Linked DNA regions of Homo sapiens: region 2 is linked to region 1. The links are contacts of gene promoters, found by promoter capture Hi-C in blood cells and fetal thymus (Javierre and others, 2016). All regions are on one chromosome and are shown on one strand. Each heading gives the region's core, a stretch centred on a gene start or on the middle of the fragment in contact. The rest is flanking DNA. Distances are from core to core; before and after follow the strand shown. Region 1 holds the start of OSBPL11 (oxysterol binding protein like 11). Region 2 holds the start of EFCAB12 (EF-hand calcium binding domain 12).

Region 1 (7,452 bases), core at 2,127-4,626:
CACAATCACAGCTCACTGGAGCCTAGAACTCAAGCAATCCTTCCACCTCAGCCTCCTGAGTAGGCATGCCACCATGCCTGGCTAATTTTTTAATTTTTTGTAGAGATGGGGTCTCTCTATGTTGCCCAGGCTAGTCTCAAACTGCTGGGCTCAAGTAATGCTCCCACCTCAGCGCCCCAAAGTGCTAAGGATCAACACTTTGGGTGAGCTACAGTGCCAGCCAAAACCAAGTACTTATAAAAGTTACTTTTTATAATTAGAAATGGATGGAAAAGAGGAATAAGAGGTCTGACTTAAAAGTTTTCTGTGTGTCAAAAAAAATGAAATTAAATCTGAGGACTAGTGAAATATTTGCAGAAAGTATAGCAAAGAATTTATACAAAATTAAAATATATTGCATGTCATCACATGTTTATTAAATAAAGAACTAATATAAATTTCTCTGGAATTATAGTCAAGAAATCAGTAAAAGATAGCATTTCCAGAGAAGGAAACCGAGTGGCTGGGAAAGTATGTAAGGGAAATGTTTCATTGTATATACTCATCCCTTTACCTATTGAAAAGAAGAAAAATCAACAAAATATTTTTAAAGGAATATTGGTATTTAATGTTGACATTTTAATAAGAGATATCAAGCATATTAAAAAGAAAAATATTAAGACCTAACAGGAAATGTATAAAAAACACATATGTAGATGTTTCACAAAAGAAAAAAAAATGATCATAAAGAAAAATGAACTAAAAATGCATCAGAAACCTAAACATAAGCACTAAAACAAAACTCCTAGACAAACACATAAGTGTAAATCTTTGTCATCTTAAACTTCACAATGTTTTTTTAGATGTGACACAAAACTATAACAAGAGAAGAAAAAACTCATTAGACTTCATGAAAATTAAAAACCATTGTGCTGCAAACAATATCATCAAGAAAGTTGTAAACCAAAAATAACATTCGAAGGCACCTCACAACCAACTTAATAGACTCCCGGCTCTCTCCAGACCCAAATGTGAATGCCAGGGCCGCGGCGGCGCCCCACCCACAGCCCCATAGCAGGTCAGGACGAAGCGCCACGGACAGGGGACCCGCGGCCCCTGCCACAGGTCACACACATACAAAAAAATCATGCTGATTCCAAAAGCGGGCCTAGACCTCTCAAACTAACTGAATATATCTTCTTATCCTACAGTCACTTACCAATAAAAAGTTATCTTCTGGCCAGGCGCGGTGGCTCAAGCCTGTAATCCCGGCACTTTGGGAAGCAGAGGAGGGCTGATCACTTGAGGTCAGGAGTTCGAGACCAGCCTGGCCAACATGGTGAAACCCCATCTCTACTAAAAATACAAAAATTAGCCAGGTGTGGTGGCGCACGCCTGTAATCCCAGCTACTCGGGAGGCTGAGACACGAGAATCGCTTGAACCCAGGAGGTGGAGGTGGTAGTGAGCCGAGATCGCGCCACCACACTCCAGCCTGGGTGACAGAGCCAGACTCTGCCTCAAAAAAAAAAAAAAAATTATAATCTTCTATACTTCACTTCTATATGTTAATATAGTCATGCATATTTCATACATATGAATATTATTCATGATAAATGTATATCCCTCACAAAATCTTGGCTTTAATCCCTTCCAAGTTTCACAAAAATTTCACAAGCACAAATAAGCACAAAGGCTAAAAAGGACTACAGTTAGGCACATAGGAGTCAATCAAAACTTAAGAATTCATCCCTTTAGTTCCAATACGATGGGATGTGCTGGTTTGTTTCATTCATTCTTAAGGTTCTGGATAGTTCTTTCTCCCTACACTTCATATATGAAAAAACAAAAACAAAACTTGTTGCCTCTCCAGGACTCTCCTCCTGTTCCTTAAGTTGTTCATTCATATTAGTGAAAATTAACAAATATAGACTTTCTCATCAACACAGAGAGCATTGAAGTGGCCTGAGCAACGCAAACTGAACATCTCCAGGCTCAGGTTTAGTTTATCAGAGGCATTAGGATCTCTACCTTTGTCCTTGCATTCCAATTACTTATGTACATTCCCCTTTCCAAGTCACAAATACCTTCAGGGCAAGAATCTTTTCTGATTCTGGAGAAGCTCTGGACAAGTAAGTTTTGAGCACCAGTATTTGCTACCCTCTCGAGAAAGCTGAGTTAAACAGTTCCTGCCCTCGCAGTCTATCAGAGAAAGCTGGCTTGTAAATAAATTGCAACATAGGCAAAAGCAGAAGTGAGTACAGAATTAAATCTGAGGAAGCATTAACTCTCTGACTGTAGAGGAAGTTCAGGGATACATTTCTGTGTTCCTCAAAAGGCCTTCCATAAATACCTGTTGAATGAACAAATGAATGGATTAAATCTTTTAGGCGAGGTCCCAGATCCAAACGAGATGTATCAGTAGCTTCTGGAAGCCAGTGAAAAAACTTTTATCTTTCAACAATTGCGGGATGCAGCCTCCAGGGCATATTCACCCCTACCTCCACCTCGGGAAATAATTTTGGAGAAAGGAGCATACCTGTACTGCCAGCCTTTTGCACTGCCACCGCGGCTGCTGCTGCTGCTACTGATTCCACCTCCACAGCTGCTGTTCTTGTTCGGGGTCACCGCTGTGGCCTGGCCCTCCAGCTTTCCTTCGCTCTCCGAGACTTTCATTGTGGACACTGGTTCACCCCCCTGCATCTTAACGCCAAAGTCCACTTGCCCTTCTTGAGCGGGAGAGAACAATTCTGTAGTTCTGTAGGTGACTTTTTTTTTTTAAGATTTGATCTGAATATGATACCGGTTGCTAAATCACACGGCGGCTGGGGCGGGACTGTCAAATGGTCCAGAAAAGGAAGATACACATTCCCACAGAAGTTAAACTTTTGAGAGGGCAGGGGAAGCAACGAGGACAGATATCCTTCACATGTATCTCTCTCCTTTCCGGCAAAAGCAAGGAGGAAAAAGCATCCGGCGAGAAGACTTAAGTGACATACTCAAAAGAGAAGGAGTGTGGGGAGGTCGCAGATTCTGTAGCCAAGACGGCTGGGAAAAGGACGGAGCGCCACGGACAGGGGACCCGCGGCCTAACCTCGGGGCTGACCCGCCGCGCTCCCTCGTCTCCTCCGCAGGTCCTCAGGCAGTGCGTCCAGTCAAGCCCGCTCGGCAGTTCCCGCCGCAGCCCCCGAGATACAGCCAGGGCCGGCGCGCGCAGCCGGGGAGGAGGGTCGGGGAATGAGGCCGCCGGGGGCGGGACGCCGGCTCCCGGGGCCGCCTCTCCCAGGGCCAGAGGCGAGCCACTCGGGACAACTTCCTCTTATGCCCCTGGCCCGGGCCCTCGACTGGGTTCCCAGGAGCCGGTGAGTCTCTCGCGCTATCTCCAGACCCAAGCGCGAATGCCAGGGCCGCGGCCGCCGCCCCACCCACAGCCCCACAGCCCCACAGCCCCACAGCGGGTCAGCCACCCCCCGCCCCCTGCTCCCTTCCCGCCTTCCCTTCCGGAGTAGCGTGAGCTCACTTCCCTCACAGCCGAAGCGTCTGGCGCCATCTTGGGTCAGGGCGGCGGGTCCCTGAAGGAGGCGGAGGCTCTGGGAGCTGGTAGCTGGGCGACTGGCTGATGGGCGAGGGAGGGCGAGGGAGGGCGCCGCAACGGAACGAGGAACCCGGACAGTGAAGGAGGAAGAAACAAAGGAGCCAGCAGCACTAGAGAGTTCCCTTCTGGTGTGTGAGTGCCCGCCTTCCTTTTTTTTTTTTTTTTTTTTGAGACGGAGTCTCGCTCTGTCGCCCAGGCTGGAGTGCAGTGGCGCGATCTCGGCTCACTGCAAGCTCCGCCTCCCGGATTCACGCCATTCTCCTGCCTCAGCCTCCCAAGTAGCTGGGACTACAGGCACCCGCCACTACGCCCGGCTAGTTTTTTGTATTTTTAGTAGAGACGGGGTTTCACCGTTTTAGCCGGGATGGTCTCGATCTCCTGACCTCGTGATCCGCCCGCCTCGGCCTCCCAAAGTGCTGGGATTACAGGCGTGAGCCACCGCGCCCGGCCGAGTGCCCGCCTTCCTAACCACGTCCTAGCCTTCCATTTGAGGGGCCGTTCCAGGCATTTTAGGAAGAAAGCTTACAAAAATAAGAAAGTACAAGAACGAAGCAAACATCTGTACGTTTTAGTTACTTGGGGTGGGGGGGGGGCAAGCATGACATTGGAGTAAAGCCAATCATTATTATAAATTAAAAAGAAGCTGTCATGGAAATTAGAGATCTCAGAACAGAGCTAGGTACTCTTCCAGACCCCAGACAAATCTTTCACCTTGTTTAGGCCTTGGTTTTGGATTTGTAAAACAAGAGTGCATGGGTAGATTTCTAAAGTCTCTCCTAATTGCTAATTTTAGTTTATAATAACATGACTTGAGGCTGGGCACAGTGGCTCACGCCTGTAATCCCAGCACTTTGGGAGGCCGAGGTGGGCGGATCACTTGAGGTCAGGAGTTCGAGACCAGCCTGGCCAACATGGTGAAACCCATTCTCAACTAAAAATACAAAAATTAACCGGGCATGGTGGTGCGTGCCCGTAATCCCAGCTACTTAAGAGGCTGAGACAGAAGAATCACTTGAGCCTGGGAGGCGGACGTTGCAGTGAGCCTGAGGAAGGAGAGAGACCCTCTCATATTGTTTTATACTCAGTACCTGTTTTAAGAAAAAAAGAAACAGCAAGGAAGTAAAACCAAAGACAGGCAGCCCAGCGCCAGGCCGGAAACCAGGCCTGGGCCTGCCTGGCCTAAACTCAGTAGTTAAAAATCAACTCATAACTTAGAAACCGATGTTATTCATGGATTCCAGACATTGTGCAGCAGAACATTGTGAAACTCCCTGCCCTGTTCTGTTTCTCTCTGACCACCGGTACATGCAGCCCCTGTCATGTACCGCTTGTTTGCTCAAATCAATCATGACCCTTTCATGTGAAATCTTTAGTGTCGTGAGCCCTTAAAAGGGACAGAAATTGTGCACTTGGGGAGCTCAGATTTTGAGGCAGTAGCTTGCTGATGCTCCCAGCTGGATAAAGCCCTTCCTTCTACAACTCGGTGTCTGAGAGGTTTTGTCTGCGGCTCATCCTACTAAAAGCTGAGATTGCGCCACTGCACTCCAGCCTGGACAACAAGAGCAAGACTCAGTCTCAACGAAAGAAAGAAAAAAACAAAAACCGGCCGGGCATGGTGGCTCACTCCTGTAATCCCAGCACTTGGGGAGGCTGAGGTGGGCAGATCACGAGGTTAGGAGATCGAGACCATCCTGGCTAACACGGTGAAACCCCATCTCTACTAAAAATACAAAAAATTAGCCGGGTGTGGTGGCGGGCGCCTGTGGTCCCAGTTACTCGGGAGGCTGAGGCAGGAGAATGGCATGAACCTGGGAGGCGGAGCTTGCAGTGAGCCGAGATTATGCCACTGCAGTCCAGCCCAGGCAACAGAGCAAGACTCTGTCTCAAAAAAAAAAAAGTAAATAAATAAACCTACCGTACAACCCAGCAATCCCACTACTGAGTATCTATCTAAAGGGAAAGAAATCAACATATCAAAAGGATACCTGCTCTCACATGTTTACTGAAGGACTATCACAATAGCATAAATATGGAACCAGCCTGTGTCCATGAACAGATGAATGGGTAAAGAATTTGTGGTATGTAGGCCAGGCACGGTGGTTCACGCCTGTAATCCCAGCACTTTGGGCAGCTGAGGCTGGTGGATCACCTGAGGTCAGGAGTTCGAGACCAGCCTGGCCAACAGGGCGAAACCCCATCTCTATTAAAAATACAAAAATTAGCTGGGCATGGTGGCGCACACCTGTAATCCCAGCTACTCTGGAGGCTGAGGCGGGAGAATTGCTTGAACCTGGGAGGCGGAGGTTGCAGTAAGCTGAGATCGTACCACTCCAGCCTGGGTGACAGAGTGAGACTCCATCTCAAAAAAAAAAAAAAAACAAAGACAAATAATGGAAAGCCAGGTGTGGTCATGCACACCTGTAGTCCCAGCTACTTGGGAAGCTGAGATGGGGGGAATCACTTATGCCCAGGAGTTTGAGGGTAGCCTGGGCAACATAGAAGACCTGTCTCTTTAAATAAATACATAAATATAAAAGTGGAAAAAAGCTTGTGGGATAAAAATATAAAAAACATGATTCTAAGTGAAAGATGCAAGACGCAAAAATGTCACATACTGTATGCTTCCATTTATGTGAAATGTCCAGAATAGGCAAATCCATCGAGATAGAAAGTAGATGAGTGGTTGCTAGGGATAGGAGAAAGGAGGAATGGGAAATGACTGCTAATGAGTATGGGGTTTTCTGGGGGTGGGGGTAATAAAAATGTTCTAAAATTCGATAATAGTGATGGTTGTACAATCTTGTAAGTATATGAAAACTCGATTGTATACTTTAAATGGGTGAATTTATGGTGGATGAATTATATTGTGATAATGCTATTTTTTAAAAAACAAATTCTCTAGCTGCATGGAGAATTAATTTTAGTGGGAGAAAAAGAGGAAGCGGGGCGACTAGGTAGGAGGATATTATAGGGAATGAGGGCAGAGATCATAGCGGCTTGGACTAGAGTGGTGGCAGTGGGGATAGAGAGAAGTAAATGGATCCAAGCTGTGTCTGGGATGGGGCTACAGTACTGCAAATGGACTGGATTTGCAATAGTGAAACTACCTTTGCAAAATTATAACTAAGGAAATTATGACAGTGAAAGAAATCAGACCTGACTCCATCTTGCTTCTAGCCTTTAAGCTGTCCTTGTTCATTCCTGGACACAGGCCAAACTAACTTTAGGAAGGAATTCAGTTCATGGTTTTACTCTGAAACAAAATTGATAATCGCCCTTTCCCGAAAAGACCCCTCTTTTAGCCTGGGGACCAGTCTGCCTTTGCAGGACTAACAAATTAGCTATAAGATTAGAAATTACTGGCCAGGTGTGGTGGCTCACTTCTGTAATCCCAGCACTTTGGGAGGCTGAGGCGGGCGGGTCACCTGAGGTCGCGAGTTCAAGACCAGCCTGACCAACATGGTGAAACCCTGTCTCTACTAAAAATACAAAATTATCCAGGTGTGGTGGCTCATGCCTGTAATCCCAGCTACTCGGGAGGCTGAGGCAGGAGAATCGCTTGGACCCGGGAGAGGCCAAGGAGGGCGGATCATTTGAGCTCAGGAGTTTGAGACCACACTGGGCAACTGGCAAAACTCGTCTCTAGTAAAAAAACAAAAATGAGCTGAGTGTGGTGGCACATGCCTGCAGTCCCAGCTACTTGGGAGGCTGAGGTGGGAGGACTGCTTGAGCCCGGGAGGTTGAGGCTGCAGTGAACTGAGATCACACCAGTGTATTTCAGTCTGGATGACAGAACAAGACTCTGTCTCAAAAAAAAAAAAAAAAATACAGTCTAGAGTACTCAGGTTTGAGTGTCAGCACATTTGGTGTAAGAAACTCA
Region 2 (7,452 bases), core at 2,513-5,012, 3.8 Mb after region 1:
AACAAGATGTTCTCAGTTGGGGGAGAAATGCTGACTGTGGGACCTGGGAGGGCATCAAGGAAGAGGTGTCTTTGATGTGGACCTTCAAGAATGGTCTGGCTTCATGGGGTGGAGGGGCAGGGATGGGGAAAGGTCAGGAGTGGGATTTGGGGATTTTAGGGTCACCAGACAGTTCCACATGTTGGAAGCCCACTGTGTGTAAAGGAGGAGGTTAGTGGGAAATAAGGTTGGCGTCATCTCAAATGCCAGGCTAAGAGATTGAAACTTTACCCTGCAGGCCACGGGAACACAAAACCTGCTCCCCACAGGTCTTGCTGCTCCCATTTGGGTCCTCCCTAGACCCCCAATCCATGTTCTGCCCTCAGCCAGGAGAGCCTTACAAATGTAAATTCACAGTCTGTCCCTTCCCCATTTGAAACCATTCAATGGATTCTTAGTGCTCTTTGAATAAATACCCGCCTCCTTCTGTGGCCTACAAAGCTGCCTTCACTGGCCCTGCTCCCCACTCTTCCCTTGTCACCTCCCAGCCCCCGCCCCCTCACTCATGTGGTCCCAGCTGCTGTCCTCCTTTCTGTTGTCTGAGGTGCCTTGTTCCTTCCTGGCTCTGGGTTTTCAGTTTTTGCATTTGCTGTGCCCTCTGAAGAGCACTGCATTCCCCAGGGCTTCCCCTGGCCGAGTCATTCTCCTCACAGTTCTAAACCTGCACCAGCCCCTGACCCCACTTTCCAAGGGTGCCTGCCCACCAAACCTCCTCAGGGAGCTTCATTCTAGTGCTCTTTGGAGTCCTGTGTCCATTGACAGAAAGGGAAATGGGCTCTTATAATAAAAGAGGCTGTCATTGTGTAGTTATGGGTAGAGACTATGTGACAATGTTCCTAGGAAATTGGCAAGGAAAGCTCTCAGACGCCAGCTAGTTCAATCACCTGCCCAGGTCAGGGACACTCTCCTCAATGCCACTGGCAGACTTTGCCTCTGTTTATACATCTCCTGTGACGTGGAACTTTCTACTTAACATGGTGGACACTAAACTCTGACTGCTAGAAAATATTTCCTTATATTGACCCAGAATTTGTTTCCCTGGACTTTCTACCCTTTGGTTCTAGTCCTCCCCATGGATGTCCCAGAAAACACACTTGTTCTCTCTTTTCTCAGACAGCCTATAGGTGTCTGGAAACAATTCTACTCTTTCTTGAAATTCTCCCTGCTCTTGGCTTGATTCAATCTCTTGCTATGTCCAATTCTACCTCTCCGGCTATTGTTTTTGGGCCCCTCTTTTCCTGATTACTCCTTAAAGGTTGTTGCTTCCAGGCTTATACCCAGGGTCTCTTCTCTTTTTAAATAATCCCTTCCATTCTCATGTTTCTATGACCTTCTGTATGCTGGGGACATCCATACCAATATTTTTGACTTGGAATTAGCTCCAAGTTTATACCTCCAGTTGTTCCTAAAACATCTCCACTTGGATGGCTTACAGGGTTTTTTTTTGTTTTTTTTTTTTTTTTTTTTTTTGAGACGGACTCTTGCTCTGTTTCCCAGGCTAAAGTGCAGTGGCACGATCTCGGCTCTCTGCAAGCTCTGCCTCCCGGGTTCACGCCATTCTCCTGCCTCAGCCTCCCGAGTACCTGGGACTACAGGTGTCTGCCACCACGACCGGCTAATTTTTTGTATTTTTAGTAGAGATGGGGTTTCACTGTGTTAGCCAGGATGGTCTCGATCTCCTGACCTGGTGATCCGCCCACCTCAGCCTCCCAAAGTGCTAGGATTACAGGCGTGAGCCACGGCGCCCGGCCGGGGATCTTTTTTTATTATTTATTTTTAATTGAGACAGGGTCTTGCTCTGTTCCCCAAGCTGGAGTACAGTGGCTCAATCATAGCTCACTGCAGCCTTGAACTCCTGGGCTCAAATGATCCTCCCAGCTCAGCCTCCTGAGTAGCTGGGACTACAGGTGCATGCCATTAAGCCTAGCTAACCTTTTTTTTTTTTTTTTTTTTGAGATGGTGTCTTGCTCTGTCACCCAGGCTGGAGTGCAATGGCATGATCTTGGCTCACTGCAAGCTCCACCTCCCTGGTTCATGCCATTCTCCTGCCTCAGCCTCCTGAGTAGCTGTGACTACAGGCGCCTGCCACCATGCCCGGCTAATTTTTTGTATTTTTAGTAGAGACGGGGTTTCATTGTGTTAGCCAGGATGGTCTTGATCTCCTGACCTCGTGATCCACCCACCTCAGCCTCCTAAAGTGCTGGGATTACAGGCGTGAGCCACCCCACCAGGCCTGGCTAACTTTAAAAAACAATTTTGTAGAGATGGGATCTCACTATGTTGCCCAGGCTATTCTCAAACTCCTGGGCTCAAGCAATCCTCCTGCCTCAGCTTCCCATAGTGCTGGGATTACAGGCGTGAGATACTGTGCCCAGCTACTGACAAGGATCTTAAACTCAACCAACCAAGACTGGATTTGTCTTTGTGCCCCTTCCCCCACTAACTGGGTCCTCTGAGTACGTTCTCTTATCTCTGTGGAAGACATCTCCATCTACCAGGTCCCCCAGCTGCCAACTTGAGAACCATCTTTATTTGCCTCTTCTGTGTTTCCTGACCAACCAGCCCCCAAGTCCCGTAGTTCCCTCTAGCCTGGGCCTTCTCCCTCACCTCCCAGCATCTTTAGCTTGGGCATTTGACCAGAGCCCTGACCTGTGTGCCTGGGAAAGGTGGCCAGCCTCTCCAGCTCTCCCTGTTTCTCCACTGGGCATTAATGTGTTCAGTGCTGGAGAAGCGGCATGGAGAAGACCTTCAGTCTTCAAGCTTTATAGCCCCCAGCTCTCATCTCCCCACACCAACATTCTGAGTCTGCCAACTCAGTCTCAGGTCTTTTCTGACTGCTCCCAATCCAGTCCTGCCACTCCCAGTGGCCTCTCCATCTCCTGGCTTGCAGTATCTTTTATGATCTTGTCCCTTCTGACCTCTCTCACCTCATTTCCAGAGACACCAGACCTCTTGGGTCATGCTGTTTCCTTGCCCGAAATGCTTTTCCTTCCCCTTTTGGCTTGGAGAACTCCTTTTTATCCTTTAAGCTCCAGTGTAAAGATCTTTTCCAAAAGCTTGGAACTGTTCCTCCCCATCCCATACCCTCAGCACACCTTTTACTCCTGGGTGTCATCCCTGGGCCCGGCATTTACCCCTTCTTATTCTGTAATTATCCATTTATCTCTGTCCTTTACCCGTGAAGCTGCATTGCTTTGCCAAGAACTTGGTCCCCAGCACATTACTGCCAAAACCTTGAAGACTGACGTCTTCTCCATGCCTCTCCTCCAGTACTGAATACATTAATGTCCTGCAGAGAAACAGGGCGAGCTGGAGGGCTCCCGTCACATGGGTCGGGCCTCTGGTTCCTCCAACTAGGCTCAGATAGAAATCTCAGAAATGTACATGACCTGCCCCCGACTCCATGGCAACCCTTCACCCAGAGGGGGTCGGCACAATATCTGTGGCTGAGTTTTTGCCCTCACCCCACTTTCACGCGTCCTTAGGGCGCTGAGCGCTCCCTGCAGACGCTTCTTCCCGGGGCTTACCGAGCAGCGACAAGAACAGACTGTGGTACGCTTCATAGTCGTCGTCCATGGTCGTGGTGCTGGGAGGGGGTGCTGAAGGGCGTGTGTGAATGTGTGTCGATGTGGGCTTGCTTGCGTAGGGGTACCGGGGTATCAGATAAACCGTAACTCCAAGTCGTGCGAAAGGCGCTCAGCTCAGACTGCAGAAGCAACCTGTTGCCGTGGCTACGGACGCCCCGCGCCAATTGGCTGAGCGCTGTCACGTGTTAAGAGCGAGCCCGCCCTGCCGAGCGCCTGCTGGCCCCACCTCGTTTTCGTCCAATTCTGGGAGGGGCAGCGAGCAAATCCACGCCCCGCCCAGTTCTGGGCTTGGTGAAAGGCGGGATTTCTTTGTTCGGCCCAGTAGTCCCTGAATCCAGTGTAGAAAGTCTCCGGTTTTCCCGTGAAATGTGGGATCTTCCGCAGGTCTCCATATCTCTAGGCCTCAGTTTTCTCATAGGAAAAATAGGCCCTGCCTCCTCCAGAGGGTTAGGAAGAACCAAAGTGAGCTGTGGCCAGATAGAGGTGTTGGGTATGTTCTGCCCCGCTTATGGCAGGGTGCCATGGTTTGGAGTTACAGAACCTGAGGACCAGAGAATAATAATAAACCCTTGAAATGTGCATCAACTGATAAGCAAAATGAGGTATATCCATAGGATGGCCATAAGAAGGAATGAAGTACATGCTACAATATGGATAAACCTTCAAAACAGTATGCTAAGCAAGAAGCTAGACACAAAAGGCCACGTGCTGTATGATTCCATTTATGTGAAATGTTCAGCATAGACGAACCCACAGACACGGAAAGTAGATGAATGGTTGCTAGGGGATGGGGTGAGTAATTGAAGTGACTGCTAACAGGTGGAGAGATTCTTTTTGGAGTGGAAAAAAGAAATGGAAACTTCTGGAATTAGTGATGATGGCTGCACACTGTAAATGTACTAAACCACTGAACTGTACACTTTAAAATGGTTAAATGGTGGCTTTTAGCTCAATTTTTAAAAAGTTAAAGAGAAACACCTAAGCCCTTATTCCTTTGCTGAGACAAGCTATCTTTGTGACGCTTGCAAACAGATTGTTGCCATGGGCCACATTCACACAGCACTCTTGCAAGCCAGGTACCATTTTAGCACTACATGTCTGAACTTCATAATTACCATCATTGTGTGAGGTAGACACCACTATCCCATTTTTAAAAGACAAGTTAACAGGTACAGAGGTCAGGCAACCTCACCTGCAAGAAACAGGAAAAGCCAGGCCTAGAGCCTGAGCAACCTGGCTGTGTCCTGAGCTCCCCTGGTGCAGAGCTCGCCTCCTGCATTCACACGGGCCCACACTCCCCATGGAGATGCTGGGGGAAGGTATGTGACCACCAGCCCTACCACAAAGCCACACCTGATGCCCTGAGCTTGGTGAGCTCGCCCCACCCTCCAGGCCCAGCTGGGCCCAAGGTTTCAGAGGCCCCTCTCCACCCTCTTTGGGTGTCTTGTCCCTACTCCTTACCGCTTTTGTTCCCTTCCATTATTAGGTGCCCTTCTTTCTCTCTGTGAGGGTCTGTACAGAACTTGTTTATCTTTGTGCCCCTCCCCACCACAGGGCTTTACACTTTGTGAATGCTACTTGGATGTTTGTTAAATGAAAATGTGATGGTAAACTATAAAGTGGGTTTGCCTTGGGGAGAGGGAGGTGTGGCCAGTTTTCCTGTTCTCTGGTCAAAATCTATCCTTCTAAAAACTGACACTCACTAAAGTGGAAACAACCAACTACCTCTGCATCACACTGCAGCCTGATTCGGTTCACACTGCCCTACAACAAAGGCAGTTTCCTGAACAACTGATTTATTTTTCATTTATTCAATCAATTTAATTTTCAAATTATACCTTAAAATGGTAGTTGGTAATTAAGACATAGTAACTAGTTTTTTCCCTTGGTTTCTTTCTAATAGTAAATGCTTTGGTATTTGAACTGTAACAATACTTGTAATAAAAATGGCATTAAGACTTATTTTTTTTAAGACAGGGTCTTGCTGTGTCATCCAGGCTGAAGTGCAGTGGTGTGATCATAGCTCACTGCAGCCTCAATCTCCTGGGCTCAAGGGATTCTCCCACCTCAGCCTTCTGAGTAGCTGGGACCACAAGTGTATGTCACCATGCCCAATTAATTTTTAAAATTTTTTGTAGAGACGGGGTCTCATTATGTTGCCCAGTCTGGTTTTGAACTCCTGGGCTCAAGCAATCCTCCTGCCTCAGCCTCCCAAAGTGCTAGGATTACAGGTGTAAGCCACTGTGCCTGGCCAAATGGTATAAACTCCAAATGGAAGATGAGAAATGAGTTTTCACAAAGGGACCAAGGTAAAAGAGTGAGTGAGCTGAAATGGAGCAGCAGGCCCATATTCACATTAGGTTATCAAATGGATACTGGGGTGGAATCTACAATTCCTAAGAGCTAGTGTGGAGCTGTCAACAATACACAATGCCAGAGGAATCTTATTTGTCTTTGGGGTCAGCTTTTATTTTTATTTTTTAAATATATATTTTTTGAGACAGGGTCTCTCTCTGTCATCCAGACTGGAGTGCAGTGGCATGATCATGGCTCACTGAAGCCTTGACCTCCTGGGCCCTCATGAGCTCAAATGATCCTCCTGCCTCAGCCTTCCGAGATTACAGGCATGCACCACCACGCCTAGCCGATAAAAATATTTAGTGGGCCCCTAGCTTTAGCAAGGCTGATAGAAATTTGCTTTGTATTATTGATAGTTTAGAACTATTTTTCATCTTCTGATTATATTTCATCATTGGAAAAGCCGTATTTTTTTTGGATTGTTGTCAAATAATAATTTATTTTAAAAAAATCTCAAAACATGTTCAAACACATTCAGTAGCAAAGATCCACCATTGGCACACACATTAAGAAAGCACACACACTAGGCTTCTAGTTGGGCTAATTAAAATCTCTATGGCTGGAAAGGTGGTTGGTTGTACTTAATTAAGCTTTTTTGAAGTGCAAAGCTATGCATAACAGATGAGCTTGAAAGCTGCAGAGTTTAAGATAGACTTAATTTTTCATGATTTTCCCAAAGCCAGTCATGATATTTATTTAATTTGTGGTCTTCAGGGTGCACCTGGAAGAAACATAAGATACAGAGGCAGAGACCTTAATGTAACTTAGTCAGAAATACATTTTTTAAAATTGGCTTTTTAAATGTTTGCTGGGGGACAGTACATTACGATACCATACCTAAAAGTTATAACCTTTAACCTCCTGGGATTCATGAATATTTTAAGTTATACCTTATATTAAGGTAATCTCACACAATTTACAAGGTACTGTCCAAATTACTACTCAACCATGACTTAGAATGTGGGGTGGCGATAACATGAGTCAAGTATTAATACCTCACTTTCCAGAAGGAGGTTCTAGACCGAGAGGTTAAATGGATTCTCAGGTCACAATGGATTGCTCTGATGAAGCTGGGATAGGACCATGGTCCTTCAGTTCAGGCTTGGCCAGACCTACTGGCTGAATGCATGAGGGTGAGTCTCAAGCTGAGTGGGCAGCATACCAGGCCACCCACCAGCTGCCAGGATGACCACCAGCATGCCACAGGCTGGGCATATTCAACAGGGCTGAAGCAGGACCCAGTCACCACAAACGTAGTCTGAGACCACTAAGAGAAACCCAATATGCATACATTGCAGGCCCAAACCTTCCTGCTTTCCTGTAGTGGTGTACTTTTGACAGGAGGAAAACCACGTCAGGCTTAGAGATAGCACACAAATAGGGAATGACAGGAACAGGGCCAGAGGTGACAAACCACTGGAGATGAGTCAGAGGCCACGCCGCTGGACTGGTCTTTGTGGACTTGGGA

What was found. Contacts are between HindIII fragments. The CHiCAGO score rates a contact against its expected background, and 5 or more counts as called.
Region 2: the fragment with the promoter of EFCAB12 here is called in contact with the fragment with the promoter of OSBPL11 in region 1 in 1 of 17 cell types (neutrophils); the score reaches 5.2 in neutrophils.

Annotation. Positions count from the first base shown.
Region 1 is chr3:125,592,121-125,599,572 of GRCh38, forward strand. It overlaps OSBPL11 (oxysterol binding protein like 11), which reads right to left and starts at 3,377. Exons shown (of 13, transcript NM_022776.5): 1 at 2,517-3,377. The coding sequence starts at 2,680. RefSeq lists enhancers at 1,905-1,964, 2,925-2,984 and a silencer at 3,085-3,494. The HindIII fragment of the contact is 11,640 bases long and covers 1-4,091 here.
Region 2 is chr3:129,424,874-129,432,325 of GRCh38, forward strand. It overlaps EFCAB12 (EF-hand calcium binding domain 12), which reads right to left and starts at 3,763. Exons shown (of 9, transcript NM_207307.3): 1 at 3,567-3,763. The coding sequence starts at 3,615. MBD4 (methyl-CpG binding domain 4, DNA glycosylase) reads right to left here. Exons shown (of 8, transcript NM_001276270.2): 8 at 6,074-6,705. The coding sequence ends at 6,628. RefSeq lists a silencer at 3,900-3,949. The HindIII fragment of the contact is 3,479 bases long and covers 3,094-6,572 here.